2 separate regions of the Homo sapiens genome follow, and region 1 is linked to region 2. The links are contacts of gene promoters, found by promoter capture Hi-C in human tissues and cell types (Jung and others, 2019). All regions are on one chromosome and are shown on one strand. The core of a region is centred on a gene start or on the middle of the fragment in contact, and the rest is flanking DNA. Distances in the headings are between cores, read along the strand shown. Region 1 overlaps LOC105376809 (a long non-coding RNA gene). Region 2 holds the start of IGSF21 (immunoglobin superfamily member 21).

Region 1 (2,995 bases), core at 384-2,883, 100 kb before region 2:
TTCTGGTCATCTGCCATGAGCAGAACCTCCTTAGACTCTGGGGGGAAAAATGTGAAGCAGAAGTGAGATCATTCTATAGCCTACATCAACCAAACCTCAGCCAACCTGCAGACCCATAAGCTTGAGGATAAATGCTTGTTCTTGTCAGCCACTGAGCTTTGAGAAGGCTTGTTATGAAGCACTGGCAGGGCTGTAGCTGACTGACATAAGATCTGAGCTATTGGAAGAAAAATTCTGTCCTGATTGGAATGGAGAGAAGGCCAGGGAGAGGGTGCAACATGAGGCTGAAAAACTCGCAGGTGCTGGAGTTTTGCAGGGCCTTATAGACCCTCTTAAAGATATTGGAAATGTTCTTGCTTTACACTGGGTAAAGCCAAGGCCAAGAGAGGCGGAGTGCCAGTGGCACATGGTAGGTTAGAGGCAGAGCCGGGGCTGGGCCCAGGCCCTTGAGGTCCCATTATACACCTGTCCTTCTTTCCTTCTGGTGATGACAACAGCAACCATTCCACAACAACATTCAGTATGATCCAGTCATGATCAATGCGTCCGGTACTACCTGATTCAATCTTGCTAACATCTGTATGTTTAGATGAAGAGACTGGGGATCAGAGAGGCTCCCTGTTCTGCTCAAGGCCACATGCTAGTTTGTTGGATCCAGTGCTCGTGACCTTCACTACTGGGCACCACTGCCCCTCACCAGCCTGGTCTCTGTGGGCTCCACTGAGCATGGGCTTCAGTGGGGCTGGGTTGAGCTGAGCTGTAGGCAGAGGGTGACATTGACCATGGGCTCTATCTTCTAACTCTGATCCTTTCTGCAACTCCCCTCTGACTTGGGTGGGCTAAATTGACACCTCAGGCAGGAGTGTGTGGGGACTGTTCATTGTAGGAAAGTGAGAGGTTCGCATCCCAACATGTGTTCCTGGTAATTACAGTCCCCTTGGTTGTCAGGCAATAACTGAGATGTCTATGGTGAGATTCCTTCTCAGAAGGGGGCCCTTGAGTGGACTTAGCCAGGTCTAATGGAAAATGACAAGGGCAAGGGAGGCTGAGGGGGGAACAGAAGAAGGAAGGACATGGGCAACTGCTACTCTTGGGATGTCGGCAGAAAGAGTGGGGGAAAGAACTCCAGAAATCCAAGAGTTCTCCCGCTGCCGTGGCCTGGAGCCTCCTTCCCCAGTTGGGCTCTGCAGAGCCACAGGGCCTGGGGAATGTCAGTGCCTGTTCTGCAGACCAGCAAGCCCCTGGGCATGGTGCTCCCCCACATTTCCTAGCTGTGTGCTTCCGGGGCGCATGGTAGCAGTGCACTGGCTGGCCCCTTTGTCCCCGAGCAAAGCCATGTGACCAGTTCTGGCCAACGTCTGCAAGGTGACAGTCCCGTGCATCACTTTCTGACCAGGGTGTCTCATGGGAGACTTTCAGGAATCCTGACTGAGTTTCCCCCTGCTGGGAAGCACCTGCTGGAAAGGGGTTGTGAGTGGCTACAAGGAGCAAACTCCTCTGTCACTCTGTAGGGGACATAGATCGTGAGCAAGAAACACACCTTGGTTGTTATAAGTCAGGAACATTTTGGAGATTATTGTTACTGCAGAATAACTGAGTCCAGCCTCACAGATAAAGTGACTCACTGAGAATGGGAAATGCTGCAACCCCTATCTGTTTCTTGGGGATTCACAAGACATGATTATAGTGAAGGATCTGAGAGGAAAGAAAGAAGGAAGGAAGGAAAGAGAGAAAAGAAAGAGAAAGAAGGAAAGAAAGAGGGAGAAAAAAACAAAGGAAAGAGAAAGAAAGAATGAAAGAAAAAGAAAGAAAGAGAGAAAGAAAAGAAAGAGAATGAGAAGGAAGGAAAGAGAGAGAAGGAAAGAAGAAGGAAAGAGAAAGAAAGGAAAAGAAAAAAAAAGAACAGCATGTTTACTTTGTTTTAATTCAAGGTTTTCTGGACTTATAGACTAGCAAGCCATCCTTCCCATGAATATCCAATGGAACATCTCTGGGAAAGGCTGGTAGGGAGTGAGTGTCCGGGACAGCAGGGTGGCAGCACAAACCTTCCACGGTGCTCTCCCAGACTCAAGGGGCGCCGCTGGAAGATGTCTCATGTGAGACATGCTCATGGGCTGTGACGAGGAGGGCAGCATTGGGAGAGGATTTGAGCACTCAGAGGGGAGCTGGGAAATCTGCTTATAAACCTGGCTCTGTCACGGGCTTCCTGTCCTCCATGGAGAGTCCTCTACCCTCTCTAAACCACAATGTCCTTCCTCAACACCCAGGCTCGTAGGGAGGATGGAATAATTCTGCACAGTGGAGGTGCCAGCGTTGGCCCGTTGCAGCTGTCCCAGATGTGCCGGCAGCTGTCTGATGGGTGGACCACAGCCATGCAGTGAGCACAGAGCCAGGACAAGTTGAACCTGCCAGAGAGCGACGGCAGGCTCTGGAGAGCAGGACCTGGCCATCTGTAGACGCATCGGTAACACAACAGTCCCACTAATTACCCCTGGGAGGCCCCCCAGCTCCCCTGTCAGGGTGTTGAGTTCCACCAGAGTTTCCAGACTGAGATTCCTGAGCCAACATGCTTTCCTGCAACCCACAACCCCAGGGATGTGGGGTTTTGCCCTAGGACTCTCTGGCTGGGACTTGCCATTGGCCAGAACCCATGGAAATGGATCTGATCTTCCTACTTTCATTTGGGTCTCTGGGGGGCCCTCAGGGCTCAGCTGTCTCCCTGCAGGTCCCCAGGGCCTCCCATTTCTACATTCCCATGGACTACAGCTTCTCCCAGCAAAGGCTTTTCCCAGCCTCAGGCCCTGCAAGATGCCAAGCTGTGACAGATGCTCCTATGTCCTGTTGGGAGCTGAAAATATACTGGCTCTGAAATGTTGCTCTTTTCTCTGAGCCTCAGTTAAATAACTGCAGCAGGGGAACATGGACCATGTCAGGCATTTTCAAACCATTTTTTAAAAACCACGGAGGACAGGAAGCCCGTGGACCTTTTCCTTTG
Region 2 (3,297 bases), core at 259-2,758:
GTCTGATTCACAAAAAAAAAAAAAAAAAAAAAAAAAAAAAATCCCACTTAGGGACAAACTGTAATCAAACACCTATTTATAAGGGTTTATTATGATCATTATTATTATTTTACTGAGAGGATCATTCTAAAGCCTGTCAGGTGAACGTATGCTTTCAGATCTTCATAAATGCAAATCGCTCCTTCTGGGGTGGGTGAGCAAGCTGAGCCGCAGAGCTGCCTTGGGAGGCGATGGGGTGAGGTTCCAGAGGGCAGGAGGAGGGAGCAGTTCACTTTCATGGACATCTCTGCACAAAGCTCACCCAGAGGCAGCCCAGCAACCACCCATTGCCCACCCCACTCCCTACACTCCTCTCAGAGGGCTGCTGGAGATGGAACTGGCTATAGACCCATTGCCCATGTAGGTAAACGATGCAACAGCCTGACTCAGCAACCTGCCAGAGCTAGGGAAGCTGGAGATTCTCCATAGAAGGCCTGGGTAAAGGGACCCACCTGAGTTCTGAGCAGGTTTTGCCCCTGGTCGTGCTGGTTTTTCTGGGCTTTGCCAATCTTCTGGGTCCCTACCAATGGTGAAATTCTATCTCCTGAACTTCCTCATCTAACCACATCCCCAGTCCACTCCAAGGGCTAGAGTACCCCTCCCCTTCATCCTCGCAGGAGGCCTCAAAGTCCACCGCCAGGGCTGAGGCTCAATGGTGTGTGTGTGTGTGTGTGTGTGTGTGTGTGTGTGCTCGCGTGTGTGTTGGTGGGAGAGTAATGGTAACATACAAGTCCCAAACCTGTTCTTCTCGGACCTGGGAAGAAAAGCTGTCAGGTCTGGCAAAAAGGTGGAAACTTGGTCTCTGCCAGGAGGAAACAATCAGTTCCTCACCCTTCCTGGCTGGATCCTAGCACATGGGAAAAAGACAGAACACACCCCATTTCCGTGGGTCCCTGGGGGAAGGAGCAGCCGTAATTGGGGAAGTTTCAGAACATGGAAACCCCTTAATCTTGCCCAATGAGGGCATTCATCGTTGGCAAGGTCAGAACTCCAGAGCCACACCCTGCCTGCCCTGCTCCCAGGATGGCATCTTTCCCTCTCGGGAGGGAGGCTGCCTCCTTTCATCAGGCTGAGTAGCGGGGAGGGCGATGGTAATCCCGGGGATAGGAGGGGCTAGGTAAAGGCGGATCCGATGGAGCATAGCTTCCAGGGCGGGGTGTTGGGTCACCTGGGTAAGGGTTAAGAAGCTGGAGGCAGCAAGCCAGTTTTGAGTGAGGGGGGACCTGAGTGAGGGGAGAGGGGAGGTTAGGAGGGGGTGAGCTCTCCTTCTCCCTGCAATAAATCGGCTTAGCGGACGAGAGCCGAACAGCCCAGAAAGGATTAAAGAAAAGTCTGTATAATACGCGGAGAGCGCGGCGAGGGGAGGGCAAGGAGGGCGGGGGGGCGGGGAGAGGGGGAGGGACGGAGGGAGGGCGAGAGGAGGGGGGTGCTCGCGCCGCCGGGAGAGGCGAGCGCGAGGCAGAGAGCGCGATTCGGCTCCAAACTCCGGCGCTGCAGCCGATCGGACTCTGGGCCGCGGTGGGCACCGCGCGCAGCTAGGGAGCCGAGAACCGCGGCGAGCCCCGAGGACGCCCAGAGCGCGAGGGTCGCTGCGCCTCGCAGAGCCGGAGCCGAGTCGAGCCGGGCGCCCGGGCTGCCTGGCCGCGGCGGCATGGGGGCGCCCCCGCGGCTCTCCGCGCTGCCCGCCACCGCCTCGGCCAGTGGCCGGAGGCAGGAGCGCGTCTGAGCCCATGGCGAGGGGACCCGCCGCCACCGCCTCCACCCCCGCCGCCCCGCCACCGCCGCCAGCTCCCGGGCACCATGCGAACCGCCCCGAGCCTCCGCCGCTGCGTCTGCCTGCTGCTCGCCGCGATCCTGGACCTGGCGCGCGGTGAGTGCGCGGGCGCCTGGCGGGAGCCGAGCGGTGAACGTGCGCGGGGACGGGGTGCCGGGGGAGGGCGCTGGCCGGGGTCGCTCCGAGAGGCTCGGGCTACGAGCACCGGTCCTGCCCGGGGTCTGTGGAGCTGGTTGGCTCGATGAGGGAGGGAGGACGCCTCTTGGAGAGCGCTCATGGATTTGTGCCAGGGTGTGTGTGTGTGTGTAAATTGTGTGTCTTTGTTGTGTGTCTGGGTGAGGGTGTCCGGGAAGGAGCTGTGTGGGCAGAAGGTGCGGGAGTGTATTTAGAGATGCAAGTGTGTGTGTGCGTGTGTGTGTGATGGTGTGGGGTCTGCGTGTGAGTGAGCGAGGGTCTGGATGGGTGTTAGAGTGTCTGTGTCAGTTACATGGAGAAGGTGTGTGTGTGAGAGTGTGAGCGAATGTTGGGGGGAGGGTGTGAACATGTGCCACCTTCCCTGTGAGGGTGTGAAGTGTGTGAGCTTGTGTCACTGTGGGTGTGAGGTGTTAGGGGGTGGGTATGTGAGGTTTGGCGTTTCACGTGTGTCCCGAGTGTGCAGGTCTCTAGGGGTGTACGACAGCGGATTACTATTTCTGTGTGCACAGGAGATGGGACTGTGACACTGGACAAGAGTCTGCTTATGTGGGATGGGTGGGGGTGCAGGTGCCTGGGAGTCGTGGGCTTCATGGGGCTGGGAGTGTGTGTATGCGTGCCATGGAGCGTGTGGTTATCGTGTGCAGGGAGGTATGGACGCTTCCGGGGCTGGGGAGTTGTGAGCAGCTCAGTGTGTGTGTGTGTGTGTGTGTGTGTGTGTCCCGCCGTGTGGACTTGCTCCCGGGTTAGGCTAAGACAGCTAGAAGGAGGTTGAAGCCGAGCGGGTTCTCCGGAGCCAGTGAGAGGTGGCTCCGCAGCCCCAGGGTCCGCGGCCGGCCTCCCACCCAGTGCCGCCGCGTAGTGGGTCTTAAATGGAGCTGAACCCTTTCGCGCAGTGAGCAGAGAGCCAACGTGAGGCTAAAAGCCAGGAGGGAGGGAGGCGGGACCAGCGAAGAGCCGCAGGCACCGAGACTACAGGCTCCGCGTCCGGGATCCTCCTCGGAGCCTGGTGCCAACCTCAGCCTGGCTGGAGTCAGAGCCTGGCTCCGCCTCGGAGGGGAGCGGGACGCGAGGTGCCAAAAAGTCGTCTTTATGATCAATAAGGTCTCGACCCCGAGCCCCACTGGATGATAGAGGTGGGCATCACCTCTGTCCTATGCCATAGCCTTGTCCCAGCAGGAGGTGCCTACCTAGGCTCTGAGAGTGCCTGCCAGGAAGGGGTGCCCCCTTAAAAATAACCCCAACTCCTTCTACCCCGAAGTCCTTGGGGAGTGCTGGGTCTGCTGATGGGA

Evidence for each region. The method cuts DNA at HindIII sites, captures the fragments that hold promoters and counts their contacts. A contact is called where the count stands out against the background at its distance.
Region 1: a contact is called between a fragment that was not itself captured here and the fragment with the promoter of IGSF21 in region 2, in 2 of the 25 tissues and cell types used here (neural progenitor cells and psoas muscle).

Annotation. Positions count from the first base shown.
Region 1 is chr1:18,005,508-18,008,502 of GRCh38, forward strand. LOC105376809 (a long non-coding RNA gene) reads right to left here. Exons shown (of 4, transcript XR_947006.2): 3 at 1-37. Among named protein-coding and RNA genes, the nearest start is that of LINC01654, 59 kb to the right of the region's middle. The HindIII fragment of the contact is 6,544 bases long and covers 1-2,995 here.
Region 2 is chr1:18,106,290-18,109,586 of GRCh38, forward strand. It overlaps IGSF21 (immunoglobin superfamily member 21), which reads left to right and starts at 1,509. Exons shown (of 10, transcript NM_032880.5): 1 at 1,509-1,909. The coding sequence starts at 1,840. The HindIII fragment of the contact is 17,740 bases long and covers 1-3,297 here.